Regions from separate parts of the Homo sapiens genome. Here regions 1 and 2 are each linked to region 3. The links are contacts of gene promoters, found by promoter capture Hi-C in human tissues and cell types (Jung and others, 2019). All regions are on one chromosome and are shown on one strand. The core of a region is centred on a gene start or on the middle of the fragment in contact, and the rest is flanking DNA. Distances in the headings are between cores, read along the strand shown. Region 1 overlaps TRIP4 (thyroid hormone receptor interactor 4). Region 2 overlaps TRIP4 (thyroid hormone receptor interactor 4). Region 3 holds the start of PIF1 (PIF1 5'-to-3' DNA helicase).

Region 1 (3,062 bases), core at 253-2,752, 390 kb after region 3:
TTACTTAAAGGTAAAATGAAGGCATCATATCCAGTAATTGATTCTACCTACATAAAGCCCCTTGCATCATTGTTCCTGTCTTGCCTCATTTCATTGGCATTATCCTAGAACATATTTTTCAAACATCTCTATCCTGGACTACAACTGTCTTCTCACTGGTCTTCCCATCTTCAGAATATCTCCACTCCATCTTCCACATTTCTGCCAAATTAGTTTTCCCTCAAGCAAGCCTCAGATCATGTTAATGCCTCAAAAAAACTTCAAAACACTCTTTCCCATCCCACAACTGATATGTCTATCATTTGATAGATTTGAATGCCTATCATTCAAAACTATCTATCATCTGAACAAACCTACCTTTTCATTTTTTTTTTTTTTTTCTTGAGACGGAGTTTCACTCTTGTTGCCCAGGCTGGAGTGCAATGGCACAATCTCGACTCACTGCAGCCTCTGCCTCCTGGGTTGAAGTGATTCTCCTGCCTCAGCCTCCTGAGTAGCTGGGATTACAGGCATGCGCCACCACGCCCAGCTAATTTTATATTTCTAGTAGAGACGGGGTTTTTCCATGTTGGTCTGGCTGGTCTCGAACTCCTAACCTCAGGTGATCCACCTGCCTCGGCCTTCCAAAGTGCTGGGATTACAGGTGTGAGCCACTGTGCCCAGCCCTTTTTAATTTTTTTTTAATTGGGCAGTCCCAGAAGCAGATTAGTTTCAGAGAGACTCCCCATTTCATTTTTTGTTTGCTGCTTATTCCTCTATACCAGGGGTATTCAATCTTTTGGCTTCTCTGGGCCACGCTGGAAGAATTGTCCTGGGCCACACATAAAATACACTAACGATAACTGATGAGCTTTAAAAAAAAAAATCACACACAAAAAATCTCATGTTTTAAGAAAGTTTACAAATTTGTGTTTGGTCTCATTCAAAGCCGTCCTGGACCACATGCATCCCACGGGCCACAGCTTGGACAAGCTTGCTCTATACTCACACTCTTCTTTCAATGAACTGGTTTGCCATTATTCTCCATAGAGGCCGATAACTTCACCTCTGTGCCTTTGCTCCCATTACTCCTCATCCTTGTAATATGCTTTTCTACCATCTCAGTAGAAACACTTGAACAGCAAAATCATAACTCTACCATTAACTGACATTACATAAGTTATTTTTTATTTATTTTTTGAGATGGAGTCTCGCACTGTTGCCTGGGCTGGAGTGCAATGGTGCGATCTCAGCTGACTGCAGCCTCTGCCTCCTGGGTTCATGTGATTCTCCTGCCTCAGCCTCCCAAGTGGCTGGGATTACAGGTGCACATCACCACGCCTGGCTAATTTTTTTTGTATTTTTAGTAGAGATGAGGTTTCATTATGTTGACCAGGCTGGTCTCGAACTCCTCACCCTGGACATTACACAAGTTATTTGAACTCTCTTGACACTTTAGGGATGATATTTCATCCCTAAAGGAGGGGAAATGACACCCTGCTTGGAATTATTATAAGGATTAGAAAATAGCATGATGAATGTGGCACATAATAACTGATCAAAAAGTGATAGATTTCATTACTATCCTTCAAAGCTAATTCAAAACCATCTTTTTAAATAAAGTCTTTTGGGATCCTTCCCAGCTAGAAGCAAGCTTTCCCTCCTTTATTTTTCTCAGAGACAGTCTTTACTTCTTTTAAGACAGTTAGGTTCACTTTTTATTTTATATTTGGTTTATATACATATCTACCTAGAAGTCTTTCAAACATCTGAGGACAGAATCTACAGTTGATTCATCCTTTTGTTTCTCTTAGTGTTTAGAACAGTGCCTGATTTATAATAGGCTCTCAAGTGTTTATTTATTTATTTATTTATTTATTTTTATTTATTTTTGAGATGGAGTCTTGCTCTGTTGCCCAGGCTGGAGTACAGTGGCGCAATCTTGGCTCACTACAACCTCCACCTCCCGGGTTCAAGAGATTCTCCTGCCTCAGCCTCCCGAGTAGCTGGGATTACAGGCGCATGCCACGACGCCCAGCTAATTTTTTGTATTTTTAGTAGAGAAGGGGTTTCACCATGTTAGCCAGGATAGTCTTGATCTCCTGACCTTGTGATCCGCCCATCTTGGCCTCCCAAGCTGCTGGGATTAAAGGTGTGAGTCACCACGCCCGGCTGTATTTATTTATTTATTTTTCAGACAGAGTCTTGCTCTGTCACCCAGGCTGGAGTGCAGTGGCGCAATCTCGGCTCACCGTAACCTCTGCCTCCCAGGATCAAGTGATTCTCCTGCCTCAGTGACCCAAGTAGCTGGGATTACAGGGGTGCGCCACCATGCCCAGCTAATTTTTGTATTTTTAGTAGAGATGGTCACCAAGCTGGTCAAGCTGGTCTCAAGAGCCTGACCTTGAGTGATCCGCCTGCATCGGTCTCCCAAAGCGGTGGGATTACAGGCGTAAACCACTGCGCCTGGCTCAAGTATTTATTAATGAATAAATATATATGAAAATCTTAAGAATTTCATGTTTATTTTCAGATGAAAACCAAAACACTAAATACATGGAAAAGTGGTAATATTTCCCATCTCTCTTCAGGATAAGTACAACAGAAAACATAATGCTCAGCCAGGCATGGTGGCTCATGCCTGTAATCCCAGCACTTTGGGAGGCCGAGGCAGGCGGATCACGAGGTCAAGAGTTCAAGACTAGCCTGGCCAACATGGTGAAACCCTGTCTCTACTAAAAATACAAAAATTAGCCGGGCGTGGTGGTGCGTACCTGCAATCCCAGCTACTCAGGAGGCTGAGGCAGGAGAATTGCTCGAACCTAGGAGGCAGAGGTTGCAGTGAGCCAAGATCACTCCACTGCACTCCACCACCCTGGACGACAGAGTACGACTCCGTCTCAAAAAAAAAAAAAAAAAAAAAAAAGAAAACACAATGCTCTTTGGATAAAAAAAATATATATATATATATAATATAAATGGTTTCTGAAACCATTTAAGTGGGTACTTAATACCCAGACTGCAAATAACCCTAAAGACAGTCTGTTTTGATCTAGAAACTCTAGTCAATGTTCCAGTTTTGT
Region 2 (3,356 bases), core at 30-2,529, 410 kb after region 3:
ACTAAAACTACAAAAATTAGCTGGGCGTGGTGGCAGGTGCCTATAATCCCAGCTACTCATGAGGCAGAGGCAGGAGAATCATTTGAACCCAGGAGGTGGAGGTTGCAATGAGCCAAGATTGTGCCACTGCACTCCAGCCTGGGCAAGAGAGACTCTGTCTCAGAACAACAACAACAACAACAACAAATGAAAAATAATCCCATCTTTGTCTGCAATAAGGCCAAAAGGGTAGAGATAGTATACATTCAGTAGAAGTCTCAGGTATGATAACAAGGCCCATCTTAAAGAATAATTAGAATGTTGAAATCTCCATACAATGCTTACTAATTCCAGCAACAGCACAAATATCACACCAAAAGAGCTATAATTATTTCCAATTTATACTTAATGATCCATACTTGGTTCTGGATAATTTTTCAATAGAATTCTGTGAGCTAAATGAAAGTTCAACATTTTGGTCCACAATTCTGCATGTGCTTAGGGGCAGTGTCACATGCTGGCACCATGACAAAGCCAAACAGATGTTGTCAGGTCAGAGGCAGCAGTTCTGACTACTGGATGCATGAAATATTCTCTTACCCTGAAATGAAGAACTTGTCTCCTGAAAGAGAGGGTGGAGGACTACTAAAACAGGGCTCCCATCATATAAAAAGAATAGAGAATTATAAGGTACAGGTAATTACAGGAGAGTGAAGAGTCTTGGCAACAGTTCAGACAGAGAATGGCAAAGGTTAATGTTTCTTCCAGAGCAACGATACCATGTCCTCCAAAATTAAAATTTAAAAATAAAGGCAATTAGCATGATGATATTTGGGGTTATCTTTTTTAAAAAATTAATAATTTATAAAGCTGAACACAGTGAAGCATGCCTGTAGCTTCACTAGTTACTCAGGAGGTGAGGCAGGAGGATCACTTGAGCCCATAAGTTCAAGGCCAGCCTGGGCAACATGGTGAGGTCCTGTGTCTTTAAAAATAATAATAAGGGCCAGGCATGATGGCCGATGTCTGTAATCCCAGCACTTAAGGAGGCCAAGGCAGGAGGATCGCTTGAGCCCAGAAGTTTAAGACCAACCTGGGCAACAAGGCGAAACTCCTTCTCTACAAAAAAATATACAAATTAGTAAGGTATGATGGCACGTGGCTACTGTAGTCTGAGCCACTTGAGAAGCTGAGATGGGAGGATCTCTCGAGCCTGGGAGGTGGAGGCTGCAGTGAGCTATGATCATACCACTGCACTCTAGCCTGGATGACAGAACAATATCCTGTCTCAAAAATAAATAAAAATGAACATAAAATAACTTATAGGAAAAAACTTCTAGTGGTAGTCGAAACCCTAGGCATTTAACCCCTAAAGATTTCAGTTTTTCAAACTGGAAAAGGATGAAGTTGGACTAAATAAATTTCTAAGGATCTTTCTGCCATACAATTTTATGATTCTTGTCAATTGTGGCATATCTTAAAAATACACATTTTTACAAATTAAATACACATTTATTGAGTACTTAACTGTGAAAAGCACATTAACTAGGGAGACATAAAATATGAAAAAGATACGGTTCTTGCTTGCAAGGAACTTAAAGCCTAGTGGAAGACAGACACATAAATAACTATTCAAAACATAAGGCAGAATTGACTACATACTAAATAGGAGATAGAAGTTTTTACAGAGGACCAAAGAGGAAAAAGAATTGATCCATTATAGGGTAAATAAATAATTTCTTTAAAAAAAATTTTTTTTGAGACACTGTCTTGCTCTGTTGCCCAGGCTGGTCTTGACCTCCTGGCTTCAAGTGATCCTCCTTCCTCAGCCTCCCAAAATGCTAGGATTACAGACGTGAGCCACCACACCTGGCTGGAAATAAATAATTTCATAAAATGTTGGTATGTGAACAATCTTGAGGCCCAAATTATTTTTTCTATTTCTACTACAGCTGTTCCCTCTAATTACACAGCCACTTTCCTAAATTAATTCCTCATTATCTTTTGATAATACTATTAAAGAATCTGCCAGCAGGTCTCTTCATCTACATTTTTAGTCTTTATGATGATAATTATTTTTTTTTAGAGATGGGGTCTCACTGTGTCATCCAGGCTGGAGTGTGGTGGCTTAATCATAGCTCACTGCAGCCTCCAACTCCTGGTCTCAAGTGATCCTCCCACCTCAGCTTCCCAAGTATCTGGGACTATAGATGTGTATCACTACATCTCAGGCCCGGCTCCCACTTTTGGTCTTTAAATAACTCTCTACTGCTCCACTAGTGCTTTAATACTAATTTGGGCTGGCATCATCTTTCCATGGTGCTATTGCAATGACTACCTTGGCAATTTCTCAGCTTCTAATCTTACTTACTCTTCCCTCCAATCCATTCTCTACGTAGGCATGGAAGCCATGCCAATCTTCTGTTAAAATTCTTCCAGAACCCTTCTTTGCCTACTTTAGGGCAAAACCTAAACTCATTAGCATAAGACAAAAAATCTTTCATGATCAGGTGTTGCTTACTGTACTGGGTTGAGTAGTATCCCCCCAAAATCAATGTCCACGTTCATGGAATCTGTGAATACAACCTTATTTGGAAATAATCTTTACAGGTGTAATCAGTTTAAGATGAGGTTATATTAGATTATAGTAGGCCCTAAATCCAATGACTTGTATCCTTGTAAGAGGAGAGAGCACACAGTGACAGAGACACACATGGGGAAGAAGTCCATGTGAAGACAGAGGCAGAGATTAGAGTAATGAGCTACAAGGCAAAAGACACCTAGAGCCACCAGAATCTTAAAGAGGTAAGTAAGCATTCTCCTGTAAAGCCTTCAGAGGGAATGTAGTCTTTCCAACACCTTGATTTCGGGCTTTTAGCCTCCAGGTATGGGATAATAAATTTCTGTTGTTTAGGTCACCTAATTTGTGGTACTTTGTTACAGCAGCCCTAGGAAACTAATACACTTATCAGTCCATAACAATAGTTAATTACTTGTGATTCCCCAAACCTGCAATGCTCTCACGCTGCTGAGCCTTTGTATGTGTTGTACCTTCTGCCTGGAAATTCCCTCTCCAGATTTGTGTGCTTGGAAATTCCTATATCTATATCCCATGTTTTTGTGTACACATGCCTTTGTTCCTACAATTCATTCTGCCTGGAATTTTTTTCTCCACCATTCCCAAACATATATTTTTCAAAAATATTTGCTTTTTTTTTTTTGAGACAGGGTCTCACTCTGTCACCCAGGCTGGAGTGCAGTGGCATGATCATAGCTCACTGCAACCTCTGCCTCCTGGGCTCAGGTGATTCTCCCGACTCAGCCTCCTAAGTAGCTGGGACTACAGGCACCACGCCACCATGGCCAGCTAATTTTTG
Region 3 (3,498 bases), core at 999-3,498:
GCACAGAGCCAGACGCTGTCTCCCAAAAAAAAAAAAAAAAAAAAAAAAAAAAAAGGAAAACTCTAACTTTCCACTCCTAAGTAAGGACAAGAACAAAAGGACCAAAGGCTACTCCCTTTGACGTTTCCCGCATGGCAGATGGGAGATTGGCAGATGGGAGATTGGCTGTCTGCAACAAATCATAGGAGTGTGGGTCCAGTCTTCGTTTGCAACTTTGTAACTTCACTCCAGCCTCTGAATGGTGGCTGAATGGTTGCTGTCTGCAACCAATCAGACTGATTATCGCTACCACTTCAGTTACATGAAGTAAGCGTAAAGTTCCCAATGGGAAACTTCTAGGGGGTATTTGAACCCAAGAAAATTCTGTATCTCGGGTCCCCTCCCACACTGTGGAGTGTACTTTCGTTTTTGTTTTTTGTTGTTGTTGTTTGTTTTGAGACAAGTTCTCGTTCTGTCGCTCAGGCTGGAGTGCAGCGGCACGATCCAGGCTCACTGTATCTTCTGCCTCCTGGATTCAAGTGATTCTCATGCCTCAGCCTCCCAAGCAGCTGGGATTACAGATGTCCACGACGACACCCGGCAATTTTTGTATTTTTAGTAGAGACAGGGTTTCACCATGTTGGTCAGGGTGGTCTGGAACTGCTGACCTCAAGTGATCCCCCCACCTCGGCCTCCCAAAGTGCTGGGATTACAGGCGTGAGCCACCGCGCCTAGCCGTACTTTCGTTTTCAAAAAATTCCTGCTTTTGTTCTTTTGTTGCTTCATTCTTTCTTTGCTTTGATGGGCATTTTGTCCAATTCTTTGTTCAAAACGCCAAGAACCTGGACAACTTTCAGTCATCACCCTCTACCGCTAACAGACTGGGAGCAGTGTGGTGTAGTAGCTAAGCCCCATGGAGTGATTAAGCGAGCAGGTAATCTGGGTTCAATGTTTGGTTTTGCTCTCCATATCAGCTATGTGACCTTCAGTAAAATCTCTGGAAGCCTTGCTTTTTTCTCATTTGAAAAATAAGGTCCGGGCTCATGCCTGTAATCCTAGGACTTCGGGAGGCCACGGTGGGTGGATCGTTTGACCTCCGGAGTTCGAGACAAGCCTGGGAAACATGGTGACATCCCGTCTATACGAAAAAAAAATTATATATATATATGTGTGTGTATATATATATATGTGTGTGTATATATATATGTGTGTGTATATATATGTGTGTGTATATATGTGTGTGTGTGTGTATATATATATATATATATATATATATATATATATATATATAAATTAGCTGGGTGTGCATCTGTAGTTCCAGCTACCTGGGGGGCTGAGGCGGGAGGATCACCAGAGCCCAGGAGGCGGAGGTTGCAGTGAGCCACGATCGCGCCACGGCAGAGGTTGCAGTGAGCAGAGATTGTGCCACTGCACTCCACTACAGCCTGGGCGACAGAGTGAGCCCTAAGAAGGAAAAAGGAAAGGAAAGGGCAATTTAATCCATGGTAGTTATCATTATCTGTAAAATGAGGTAGCCAGACTCACCTGTAAGATCCTTTCCAGCTATGTAATTCCAAGCTTCAATGAGATAATAAAGATGATTAAAAGTAAATTCTTTCAGCATCCTGTGCAAGAAGAGGGATACAATTTCCCTGAAGACAGAGACTCTACTCGCTTCCGCTGTACCCTCTGGCACGTGGCACAGGTCTCAGAGTTTCTCACTCATGGGCCTCAGGTGGGTGAGAGAGCCAAAGCGTAAAGTCCCTTACAAAGGCAGAGAAGGATGTAGAGTTGGGGGCGGGGGAGGGATTGGGCAGGCCTTGGGGTGGTCTGCCCAGAACTGGACAATGGTACTGTGAGTGTAAACAGGGGTGTGAGAGTCCAAAGGCAGATCTTCCCCAAGGCTAAGCCCAGCCTCTGTGTGCGGGCTAGAGGGGAGAGGGAGTGTGCTGGAAGGATGGTTCTGAAAATAAATCTTCGGAGTCGCGTAGGGTTTTCAGACCCGACACCACGCGCCGCCGGGTGGCTGCCGCAGCGGCGGCCTCCTCCCACCACGCCCAGCCGTCCACTGGATTTGGTATGCTCAGCCACCACCATAAACCTCCTTCCTCTAGCAGGCAATTGGTACAGCCCAAGCTCCTGGAGTAGAGACGCAAAGAAAGACACGCCCATTGTTACGCCCCTACCTCTGAGTGGCTGGAGAATTTAAAGATCCAGTCGGTGATTGGGTGATTTTCTGCCTCTAGCATTTGAAAAATTTCTAGTTTCGGAGCTTAGCCACAGGCCGGCTACGATCTGCTTGTTCATCTGAGTGTCGGCACAAGTGAGTGTCTGCCCGAACCCAGAGGTGGGGAGCAAAGAGCCTGATTTATCTAGGGGTTTCCGGCGGGAGGGTGCAAACAAATGGGTCAGCCTGAGGGAGCACGGCTTCTAGGGTCCCAGGGTCCCCCGCGATTTCCCTAGCCGAATATTTTCCACCTCGTCCCCACCTTGGTGGTGGGAAGCGCGAGGGCATGGGAATCACACTGACTTTGACTACTAGCCGCTGTGGCTTATGAAGGGCAAGTGAGTTTCCCTCTCTTAGCCTGTTTCCACGTCTGTACACGGGGAAGAGTGAGACCTGCCCGCTGCATATAAGCCAGTGAATGTACCTACAAGGCAGAAGTCGCTTATTACACGGCAGCCCTCTTTGCATCTCCCCACGGGCGATTCTCCTGCTTCCTGGGGAGAGTACTCTGAGGATTCATGTGCTCGCCCTGGGTCTCGGGGAAGGAGGATTCTTTCTGCGCAGGGACCCCTGTTCTAGTGAGGTCCTTGCAGGACACCTGAGGCTCCCTAATCCTCGGTGCCCATCCGCCGCTCTGGAAATTGTTGTGTAGCACGGTGTGTGTGTATATGTGTGTGTGTGTGTGTGTGTATATATATAGAAATTGTATATATATTGTGTGTATATATATATAGAAATTGGATATATAGAAATGGAAATTGTGTAGCAGGGTGCGTGTGTGTATATATATATATACATATATATACACACACACACACACATATATATAATGTATGCATATGTATGTATTTATATGTATGTATTTTTTTTTTAATTAGAGGGTGTCGCTATGTTGCCCAGGATGGTCTCGAGTTCCTGGGCTCAAGCGATCTTCCTTCTTCAGCCTCCCAAAGTGCTGGAATTACAAGCGCCCGCCACCACGCCCGGCTAATTTTTGTATTTTTAGTAGAGACGAGGTTTCACCATGTTGGCCAGGCTGGTCTCAGAACTCCTAACTTCAGGTGATCCGCCCACTTTAGCCTCCCAAAGTGCTGGGATTAAAGCGCGAGCCACTGCGCCCGGCCCAGGGCATATTCTAAGGGTGGATTTTCGGTTAGCCCAAAGCCCTTTCTCCGTCTTTGTGACCTCTTTGTGTTACCAGTGACAGTCCTCGTGATCTTGTGTAGCCTTGACCCTGCTCCCTGTCACGTCCTTTATAGCACCCATTACGTCCCCTATAGCACCCATTACGT

What was found. Contacts are between HindIII fragments. The study calls those that stand out against the background at their distance.
Region 1: a fragment that was not itself captured here is called in contact with the fragment with the promoter of PIF1 in region 3 in 2 of the 25 tissues and cell types used here (aorta and dorsolateral prefrontal cortex).
Region 2: a fragment that was not itself captured here is called in contact with the fragment with the promoter of PIF1 in region 3 in 1 of the 25 tissues and cell types used here (spleen).

What each region holds. Positions count from the first base shown.
Region 1 is chr15:64,431,721-64,434,782 of GRCh38, reverse strand. All of the region lies in intron 11 of TRIP4 (thyroid hormone receptor interactor 4), which reads right to left. Among named protein-coding and RNA genes, the nearest start is that of ZNF609, 27 kb to the left of the region's middle. The HindIII fragment of the contact is 3,066 bases long and covers 1-3,035 here.
Region 2 is chr15:64,414,939-64,418,294 of GRCh38, reverse strand. All of the region lies in intron 8 of TRIP4 (thyroid hormone receptor interactor 4), which reads right to left. Among named protein-coding and RNA genes, the nearest start is that of TRIP4, 29 kb to the right of the region's middle. The HindIII fragment of the contact is 9,009 bases long and covers 1-3,356 here.
Region 3 is chr15:64,824,397-64,827,894 of GRCh38, reverse strand. It overlaps PIF1 (PIF1 5'-to-3' DNA helicase), which reads left to right and starts at 2,248. Exons shown (of 13, transcript NM_001286496.2): 1 at 2,248-2,326. RefSeq lists enhancers at 1,986-2,115, 3,305-3,498. The HindIII fragment of the contact is 20,575 bases long and covers 1-3,498 here.